Regions from separate parts of the Homo sapiens genome. Here region 2 is linked to region 1. Evidence: promoter capture Hi-C in 16 types of primary human blood cells and fetal thymus (Javierre and others, 2016). All regions are on one chromosome and are shown on one strand. The core of a region is centred on a gene start or on the middle of the fragment in contact, and the rest is flanking DNA. Distances in the headings are between cores, read along the strand shown.

Region 1 (4,909 bases), core at 1,315-3,814:
TTGCTACAGATTTCTCTATGAAGAATTCAAATGGCGCTGCTAAAAACGCTTACATGAACCAAACAGCTCACTTTTGCTTATCCATAGGAATCCTGCTCCAAAAACATATATTTGAGGTGTTAAAATTGTTAAAAATTATTTTTGAGACACTGGTAAACTAGATTTCATGATAAAGGGAATATTTCATATTGTATAACTCTCAAATTGGACGGGAATACATTTTTTTCAAACAAAATATGTAAACTGAGGCAGTTGCCAGAAGACTTCTTGGTAGCCTTCTAAAACTGTATTTTTCTTCCCTAAAGACTTTTAAAGCTTTGGAGGCTGTTTTAAGTAGTACTGGAATTGTTGGATGTAACGATGTTTTGATGAAAATATAGAATAAAATAATAATAAAAAATAAATAGTACTGGCATTGCATGGAATTTCAGCTGATGTCTTATAACTTGTGCACATAACGAAACATACAGCCAAAGAAAGCTGTCTAATTAACAAACCAATTGTTAAAAGATGCAAAGGGTCTTAAAAACCACTTAAACATTGTTCTTAAAGACACACCCAAAATGACTGCTTTGTGTTCTGTGTTATTAACCATCCCTAAAACTTTCTCAAGGCTAAGGCTGACTGGGAAGATAAAATGCTTATCAAACACAATGGGAAAATTCTGAGTCATGATAAGATTTCAACTCAAGGTCAAAGGCAGAGAATCACCTTTCCTAACCCCATCTGCTAGGTACAATTCACCTATGGTCTTCTTTGTCCTGTCGATGTGCCTAACTATCAGGCAGATGTTTATAAAGAATTTCTCCTCATATGCAAGCGTTTTTTGTTTTTTTTCATCAGTATAAGGACAGAGAATAAACCTTAGCTAAGAAGCAACTGTATTAAAAACAAAACGATTTGTAGCTATGATTCAAATCAGCTCTCTTTCTGTGGTATTAAGAGAATTAAAGGGTAGAAGCAGAAAACCTCTCATAAATTAGCAAGAGTCCTGGAAAAAAGTCGCAAGTCAAGAGACCACAAAGATCTCAGAGGTACTGACAGTGGAAATCTCAAATGGATCATAATAGTTACCACAAATAATTTATAAAAAGCAATGGCCAATAGATTCCAATATTACCATTCTATTGTAATCTATAGGGATGCCATATTAATCATATTTAACCTTTCCAGGCATTATGCTTTCTTAGGAGTCCATATTCAATAAATAAATGCTGAAAAGTTATTTTCTCATCTAACCTAATAATCCATATTGTTAAAAAAATGTTTTATCAAACATTTCCTAGATGTCATAACTTGCTTAAAATTGTATCCTCATATAATGGTGAGGATACCATTACCAAATACCCTGGTGTTTCTACTGTATTCATCATGTACAATCCTATAATTATAGTCATGTTGTCTTAACTTAGTGTTATAAATCACTACAATTTCTATAACATTTTCATATATGAACAAAATTAATAGCTTTCTCATTATTGAATAGAATCAGATGTGATAAGTGACCTCAAATGTTTTATTTAGAGGCTTAAAGACAAAGAACTCTAAACGAGTATCCAGCATCTTTTGAAAGGATACCTAAAGGGGCAAGAAAAAAAATTATCTTTCCCCCATGAGCAAGAGAAGGGGAGCTGGGTGGTAAGTAAGGATGCAAGGTTTTCAGGACTGTTAACAGTTGAGAGTGTAGGTTCTTTCTACCTCTCCCTGATCCTCCCAGCCCTCCCCCATAACAATGAGGATGCTGGTGAAATACTAGCGGACAGGATCTGACCATACCTTCATGGGTAGGCTCTGGGTCAGGTGTAAGTGAGATGTCATCCAGCTCTCGCAGGCAGAGCCATTCTCCATCCATGGACACTCGGAATTTGCAAAGGTAGATGGTCTCCATGGCAGCCTGTGTGATCTTGTCAGTGGTGGGGGTTGGCATATCGGTCGGAGGCGTCAGAGCAGACATGATGACTCAGCTGGGACCACAACACACACACAGACACACACACACTCACACACACACACCAAAAAAATAAATACAACCTCCTCACCAAAAAAACCCAATACAAAGCTCTGAAACAAAGCTTTCAGGAAAAGGGTGGGGGAGGTTTAAAAAAAAAAAAAAGGAAAAATACCTTATAGGTTAAGAACAAACTGCTCAAGATAAACAATTCTACACTATCTTATAGACAGTTCCTACCACATAGCAAAATAAGATGATGCTTGTCTTCTCCCAGCTTCCTCTCCTTTTATCTTCCCTTCCCTGCCCCCCACCTTTTTTTTCAGCTGAGCTATAGGCTTTAAATCCCGCACAGCTGATGCTGCCTTAGCTGGCTTTAAAAATCTGGCCTCGATATGAGTAAGTGAAAAATCCTCCTCCTTTGTGCAGAAAAAAAATATAAAAGAAAAACCTGAACAAAAAATAAACCTATATTTTCAATGTAGCTTAAAAAAAAAATCCTGAGCTGCAGAAATCACTTCCAGGATCTGCTCAGATGAGCTGGGATGCTGAGTTCTCATAGGATTGGCCGTGCGCAGTAAGCAGGGTGTTGACCAAAATGGCTGACTAATGAACTGAACTGAAAATTCAGGCTCATGTGACCAGCTGCTCTGAACGTAGGGCAAGCAATTCCCAGGATGCTTTATAGATGCTGCTGATGCTGGGAGAGCAATTAGGCTTCTCTCTCTCATCCTGTACAACCCACTTCCAGACTGTGCTAGTCAAACTGTGATCAGACATAACACAATGCACATATCCTCATCAATTCTTCTTACTTTGGGATCAAGGACTGAATAAAAGGATGACAATTAATACCGGATAATAATCTATAGTAAAGATGGTAAAAGAGGCAGTTAGATTAATTTAACAAGCATATAATTCACCTCTTTCATTCTTATCTACATAGCTATTAAAATTCTTTACTATGCTAAATGTTATGTTTTAAGAAAAGCTAAAGCATAAAAAATTGAGGTTCTCAGAGGGAAAAAAAACAAAAAGATAAAAAGAAAAGCTAAAGTAGATTTTCAATTTAAATATCTTATTCTTGGGCATTTATAATTTCCTTCTCCAAGGTACAAAAACCTGACCTTTTAGGTTAGGCAGAAATGCAAAAAAAAAACTTCAAGTTAAAAAAGTAAAATCTTTCCCAATTAATGGCAATTTCCCCCCTTTTTGATTTTGTTGTATTTATCAAGTTTCTGTATTAAGCATAAAATACGTTTCTTTTTTTTTCTTTTTTCTTTTTTGAGACAGAGTCTTGCTCTGTAGCCCAGGCTGGAGTGCAGTGGCGTGATCTCAGCTCCCAGGTCCAAGCAATTCTCTGCCTCAGCCTCCCGAGTAGCTGGGATTACAGGCACCCACCACCACGCCCAGCTAATTTTTGTATTTTTAGTAGAGACGGGGTTTCACCATCTTGGCCAGGCTGGTCTTGAACTTCTGACCTCATGATCCTCCCACCTCAGCCTCCCAAAGTGCTGGGATTACAGGCGTGAGCCACCATGCCCAGCCTTAAGCATGAAATATGTTTCTAAGCAGATTAAACCATGTTATATTTTTAAAATCCTCCCATTCGATAAGATACTGAAGACAATTATATTTTCTTAATACACACACACACACACACACACACACACACACACACACACACACACGGCCCTATATTATCCAATGAGGCATTTATACCTTGGTAGCAAAAGGGCAGGTACTTGCTTTATGAACTACATAAATTACAAAGAGAAGAATAAGAATTTTCTTTGAAAATGTTTTGGACAATTGAAAGAAAGTGTTTGTTTGTTTTTGTATTGAAGGGTTCCAATTTTAAGGAGGAACATACAAATTCAAGAAATATGACCTGAGACTATTCCTTTCTAGGGATTGTTATCAGAGGGACATCTTGATTTACCTAATTTCTGAAAACTAAAAAAATTCTCCTTGAATATTGTTAAAATCTCAAATGCTTCATCATAATTTGAGACTGAACTGAAAGAAAAAAATGCTAATAATCAAATTCTGTAGAGAAACTGGCATTTTCATATTGTTACGAAGACAGGGCGGATGGCTGGGCGCGGTGGCTCATGCCTATAATACCAGCACTTTGGGAGGCCAAGGCGGGCAAATCACCTGAGGTCAGGAGTTCGAGACCAGCCTGGCCAACATGGTGAAACCTCATCTCTACTAAAAATACAAAAATTAGTCAGATGTGGTGGCATGTGCCTGTAATCCCAGCACTTTGGGAGGCTGAGGCAGGTGAATGGCTTGAGCTCAGGAGTTTGAAACCAGCCTGGGCAACATGGCAAAACTCCATCTCTACAAAAACAAAAATTAGCAAGGTATGGTTGCGCGCACATGTGGTCCTAGCTACTTGGGAGACTGAGGTGGAAGAATCACGTGAGGCCAGGAGGCAGAGGCTGCAGTGAGCCGAGATCATACCACTGCACTCTACCCTGTCTCAAAATAAAAAAAAGAAGGAGGGTATACTGGTACAATGTAAGAAGGCATATATATAGGCTTATTTATAATTGGGGAAAATCAGTAAGTTACTAAGGAAAGCAAAATACTCCTGGTTTTATTTCTATCTCATTCTCTCTCATCATTACCCTACATCTAGACTCAGAGCCATTCATTCATTCATTCATTCAACAGATATTCACTAAGAGGTGCTCCACATGCCAGGTAGTGATCCAGGCACTAGGCACGCAGCAGTAAGACAGAAACACCTTTTCCAGGAAACAGAATTTTCATATCCAAATACTGAACACAAGCCTTCATTTAACACATTCTCATTTAATTCAGTTCAATTCCTTTCTAGCCAAAAATATTCCCATATTATATATTAATAAGGGGACAGTTTATAGATTCACTTTATATCATGCAATACTTCAAAACATAGTAAGTAGTCATTAAAACCTTCAAATTACATGG
Region 2 (4,641 bases), core at 2,105-4,604, 210 kb before region 1:
AAGCACAGGACAACCATGATTTCTCTAAACAAAGTCTAACAAAAGCAGCTAGTGGTTATCAGTGTGATGTCAGGAAAGGCCCACTGTGAAAGTAATATACAGATGCAATCAAACCTGGGACACAAGGCAGAGAAACAGCTGTGTTAAAAAAAAAAAAAAAAAAAAAGGAAAGGTACAATTAAAAATGTTTAAAGAAGTCCCTTTAGTGCTAATACAGTCAACTGCAAAAGTGACATTTCACATTATTTGAGACGTTGCAATGCTCCCCAATACCTAGAATGGGTTTCGACTCTGACCATTTAAACTAAGAGAGGATAACAGAAATAAGTGAAAACCATCAGAGGGAAAAAAAGAAAAAAATGCACAAAACTAAATGCAAAAATCCTCCCTCTTCCTCTTTTTGAAATAAGTGAAATGCAAGCACAGTTGTCAGACCTGACATTTAAAAAAAGAAAAAATTCATTAAGCTACCAGGGTTTCACACATACAATCATGCACAGTATTTACTGATTTTACTAATAAAAAAAGGTAGAGTGTTCTGAGTTGTTGTAACATATAAATTACTCTTAATAGTTCAACTTGTAAATACTCAAAAATAACAAGCATGCCATAAAAGCATATTCTTCACATGCACTAGCAATTGGACACGACTGTTTACTCATACTTTGGGGAAAGAGTTACTAAAAGAAAAAAACTCTTCATCCTGAAATAATCAGAAACTAAAAACCCTGGCATAGCTTTCTAACAGACTCCATGAGAAAAGCAATAAAAGAATTAAGAGAAGTAAGTGAAAAGTAACTTTAAATCTACCCCCAGAATTTAGTTATTTTTAGAGCTCCACATATGCCATCTGCCTCCCAAACATGTTTATGTACACTAAATTATCAGTTTATTGCCTGTAGTAAAATATCAAAAAAAAACTAAGAAACAAGATATACACTGAGTTAAATATCTCAGTTTGTGAAATCCACCCTTATAGACTATACTATATGCTAATTTCGAAAAAAGCATTATTTTTCTAGTAAATTGTTAAAACTTCATTTTAAATCTAAATTTTAAATTTTAAAACTTCATTCTGGCCAGGCACGGTGGCTCATGCCTGTAATTCCAACACTTTGGGAGGCTGAGACGGGTGAATTGCTCAAGCCCAGGACTTCAAGACCACCCTGGGCAACATAGGGAGACGCTGTCTCTACAAAAAATTTTAAAAATTAAGGCTGGGCGCAGTGGCTGTATTAAGGGAGGCCGAGGCGGGCGGATCACAAGGTCAGGAGATCGAGACCACGGCGAAACCCCGTCTCTACTAAAAATACAAAAAATTAGCTGGGCGCAGTGGCGGGTGCCTGTAGTCCCAGCTACTCGGGAGGCTGAGGCAGGAGAATGGCGTAAACCCAGGAGGCGGAGCTTGCAGTGAGCCAAGATCGCGCCACTGCACTCCAGCCTGGGCGACAGAGTGAGACTCCATCTCAAAAAAAAAAAAAAAATTAGCTTGGTGTGGTGACGTGTACCTGTGGTCCCAGCTACTCAGGAGGCTGAGGTAAGAGGATCATCTGAGCCCAGGAGGTGGAGGCCACAATAAGCAGTTGTTGGGCCACTGTGCTACAGACTCAGCCACAGAGCAAGACCTTATCTCCAAAAATAAAATAATAAAATTAAATTGGCCAGATGCAGTGGCTCACACCTGTAATCCTTCGGGAGGCCAAGGTGGGCAGATCACTTGAGGTCAGGAGTTGGAGATCAGCCTGGCCAACATGGGAAAATCCCTTGTCTACTAAGAACACAAAAATTAGCCGGGCGTGGTGGCACACACTTGTAATCCCAGTTACTTGGGAGGCTAATGCAGGAGAAACACTTGAACCTGGGAGGTGGAGCTTGCAGTGGGCCAAGATCACGCCACTGCACTCCAGCCTGGGTGACAGCAAGATTGTCTCAAAAAAAAAAAAAAAAAAGAAAGAAAGAAAAGAAAAAGAAGAAAAGAAATACAGGGGACAGAAATTATTTGGAAGTACCTTTACTATTATCTTGTTTATTTGGCATTAATTTTAAAAGTCCAAGAAGCTTTCATGACTCTTTTTCTTAATGATGCAATGATAGTGGGAATGCAGGGAAATGAGCACTCTCATTCCCTGGTAGAGGGAACACAATTTACAGGGCACATTGGAAAATAGGAAACTTGTGCCTGGTATATGACAATCCTGTAAAGAAGGTCTCTACAAAACTATGTGATAAAGATACAATAAATAAGGCTGAGTGCAGGGGCTCACGCCAGTAATATCGGCATTTTGGGAGGCCAAGGTGGGAGGATCACTTGAACCTAGGAGTTCAAGACAAGCCTAGGTAACATAGCAAGACCCCGTGTCTATTAAAAAAAAGTTTTTTTATTATAAAAATCCAATAAATAGGTATTCTAAACTCTTCTGTGCACAGTAGCCACCTTTTAATATTTTCCCTAAAATCTTTACAATGGAAAAACATACAACAGACTGAGGAGAATCACTCATACTCTCACCACCCGTGATGAAATTCTTGAAAATGTCAGGCCACGTGTGGTGGCTCATACCTGTAATTCCAGCACTTTGGGAGGCTGAGGCGGTGGATCACGAGGTCAAGAGTTCGAGACCAGCCTGAACAACATGGTGAAACTCCATCTCTACTAAAAATACAAAAAATTAGCCGGGCATGGTGGCACGCGCCTGTAATCCCAGCTACTCAAGAGGCTGAAGCAGGAGAATCGCTTGAACCCGGGAGGCAGAGGGTGCAGTGGGCCGAGATCACACTACTGCATTCCAGCCTAGGTGACACAGCAAGACTCCATCTCAAAAAAAAAAAAAACAAAATTCTTGAAAATGTCATTGATTAGTCAGGAAAAAAAATTGTTACTAAGAGGCACTATGCTAGGTGGTAGAGATTTAAAACAAACATTTTTTGAAAATGCCCCATCTTCAAAGAGATCATACACATGACAGTGGGTGGAGTACAATGTCTTTTTGGAAAGGACTATGATAAGGACTATAAAGGGCACTGAAATGGTATCTAACAAACTGGGAAGGGGGCACAGGCCAGGGAAAAAGTTGGCTCCTGAGCTAAAGAAATGGGGGTGGGGAGGAGAAGAATAACAGCCAGAATAACAGGAACGGCATTTACAAAGGCAGAAAGATGGAGCAAAGCAGGTTGAGAGAAATGCAAATAAAATCACTGAACACTGTGGGGGAGGGATGTTAGAGCAGGAAGGCACGGATGAGGCTGGAGTGGTAAGCAAACATCTCAGGGAGGCCTTCTATGCCTTGGAGTTTTGCAGACCACTTCCAGCCCATTCCAATATCTACCTGAAATGCCCAAGTGAACTACAGGAAGCGAGTGCACCGAAGGATTCCTACCACTTCCCCTCCATGTTAAAAACCAAGATGCTAAAGTGGAACAGCAGTGGCAGCAATGCCAAGAACAAGCAGGGGAGGCCCCCGCATCCACACAATAAAAACAGCATCTGACTAAAAACCGGAAGCTCAATTCGGCAAAATTCTTGCTGTTTTGAATAGGTGAATGCACTACACATATTTATAACTGTGGTATTGACGGCAATTTTTTTTTTTTTGAGACAGATTCTCACTCTGTTGCCCAGGCTGGGGTACAGTGGCATGATCTCAGCTCACTGCAACCTCCGCCTCCCAGGTTCAAGCGATTCTCCTGCCTCAGCCTCCCAAGTAGCTGGGATTACAGGCGAGTGCCACCATGCCTGGCTAATTATTGTATTTTTAGTAGAGACGGGGGTTTCATCATGTTGGCCAGGCTGGTCTCGAACTCCTGATCTCAGATGATCTGCCCACCTTAGCCTCCCAAAGTGCTGGGATTACAGGCATGAGCCACTGCGCCTGGCTGACAGCAATTTTTTTCTTTATATTCCTAATTTTTGATGAACACAGACTGCAATTATTTCACACATACACCCAAGAAAGTTTGTATACTCAATGCAATATCTTGCAGTGCAAGGGTCTTTAACCATCATTAGCCAGTGGACTTGGAACTGAGAGTTTAAAACAACCATTAAGGAGCACATCTATGTAACACGCTGGTCTCCAGTGCTAAGATTCTTGAGGACAGAGACCGCATCTTATTTCTTTTTTTTTTTTTCTTTTTTGAGACGGAGTCTTGCTCTGTTGCCCAGGCCGGAGTGCAGTGTCACAATCTCGGCTCACTGTAAGCTCCACCTCCTGAGTTTGCGCCATTCTCCTGCCTCAGCCTCCCAAGTAGATGGGACTACAGGCGCCCACCACCACGCCCGGCTAATTTTTTTGTATTTTTAGTAGAGACGGGGTTTCACCGTGTTAGCCAGGATGGTCTCGATCTCCTGACCTCATGATCCACCTCCCAAAATGCTGGGATTACAGGCGTGAGCCACTGCGCCCGGCACATCTTGTTTATTTCTAAACCCCTTCCTTTCTCCTCCCACCACCAGCAAGCACCTAACACTTCGCTTTTACACACAGGAGGTGTTCAATAAATGTTCATTTTATTATGCAATAATGCCATACATTTGTAAGACAGCTAAACAAAAAACTGGAATGCACAAACAGTTTATACACTGGGCTTGGGAATTTCATGAGTGGAGATAATGACAGTGTTTATACAGGACTCTGGTTTATG

What was found. Contacts are between HindIII fragments. The CHiCAGO score rates a contact against its expected background, and 5 or more counts as called.
Region 2: a contact is called between a fragment that was not itself captured here and the fragment with the promoter of RUFY3 in region 1, in 1 of 17 cell types (M0 macrophages). The highest score is 5.5, in M0 macrophages.

Annotation. Positions count from the first base shown.
Region 1 is chr4:70,719,619-70,724,527 of GRCh38, reverse strand. It overlaps RUFY3 (RUN and FYVE domain containing 3), which reads right to left and starts at 2,564. Exons shown (of 18, transcript NM_001037442.4): 1 at 1,777-2,564. The coding sequence starts at 1,954. The HindIII fragment of the contact is 24,519 bases long and covers 2,075-4,909 here.
Region 2 is chr4:70,926,491-70,931,131 of GRCh38, reverse strand. All of the region lies in intron 1 of MOB1B (MOB kinase activator 1B), which reads right to left. Among named protein-coding and RNA genes, the nearest start is that of MOB1B, 26 kb to the right of the region's middle. The HindIII fragment of the contact is 2,588 bases long and covers 2,061-4,641 here.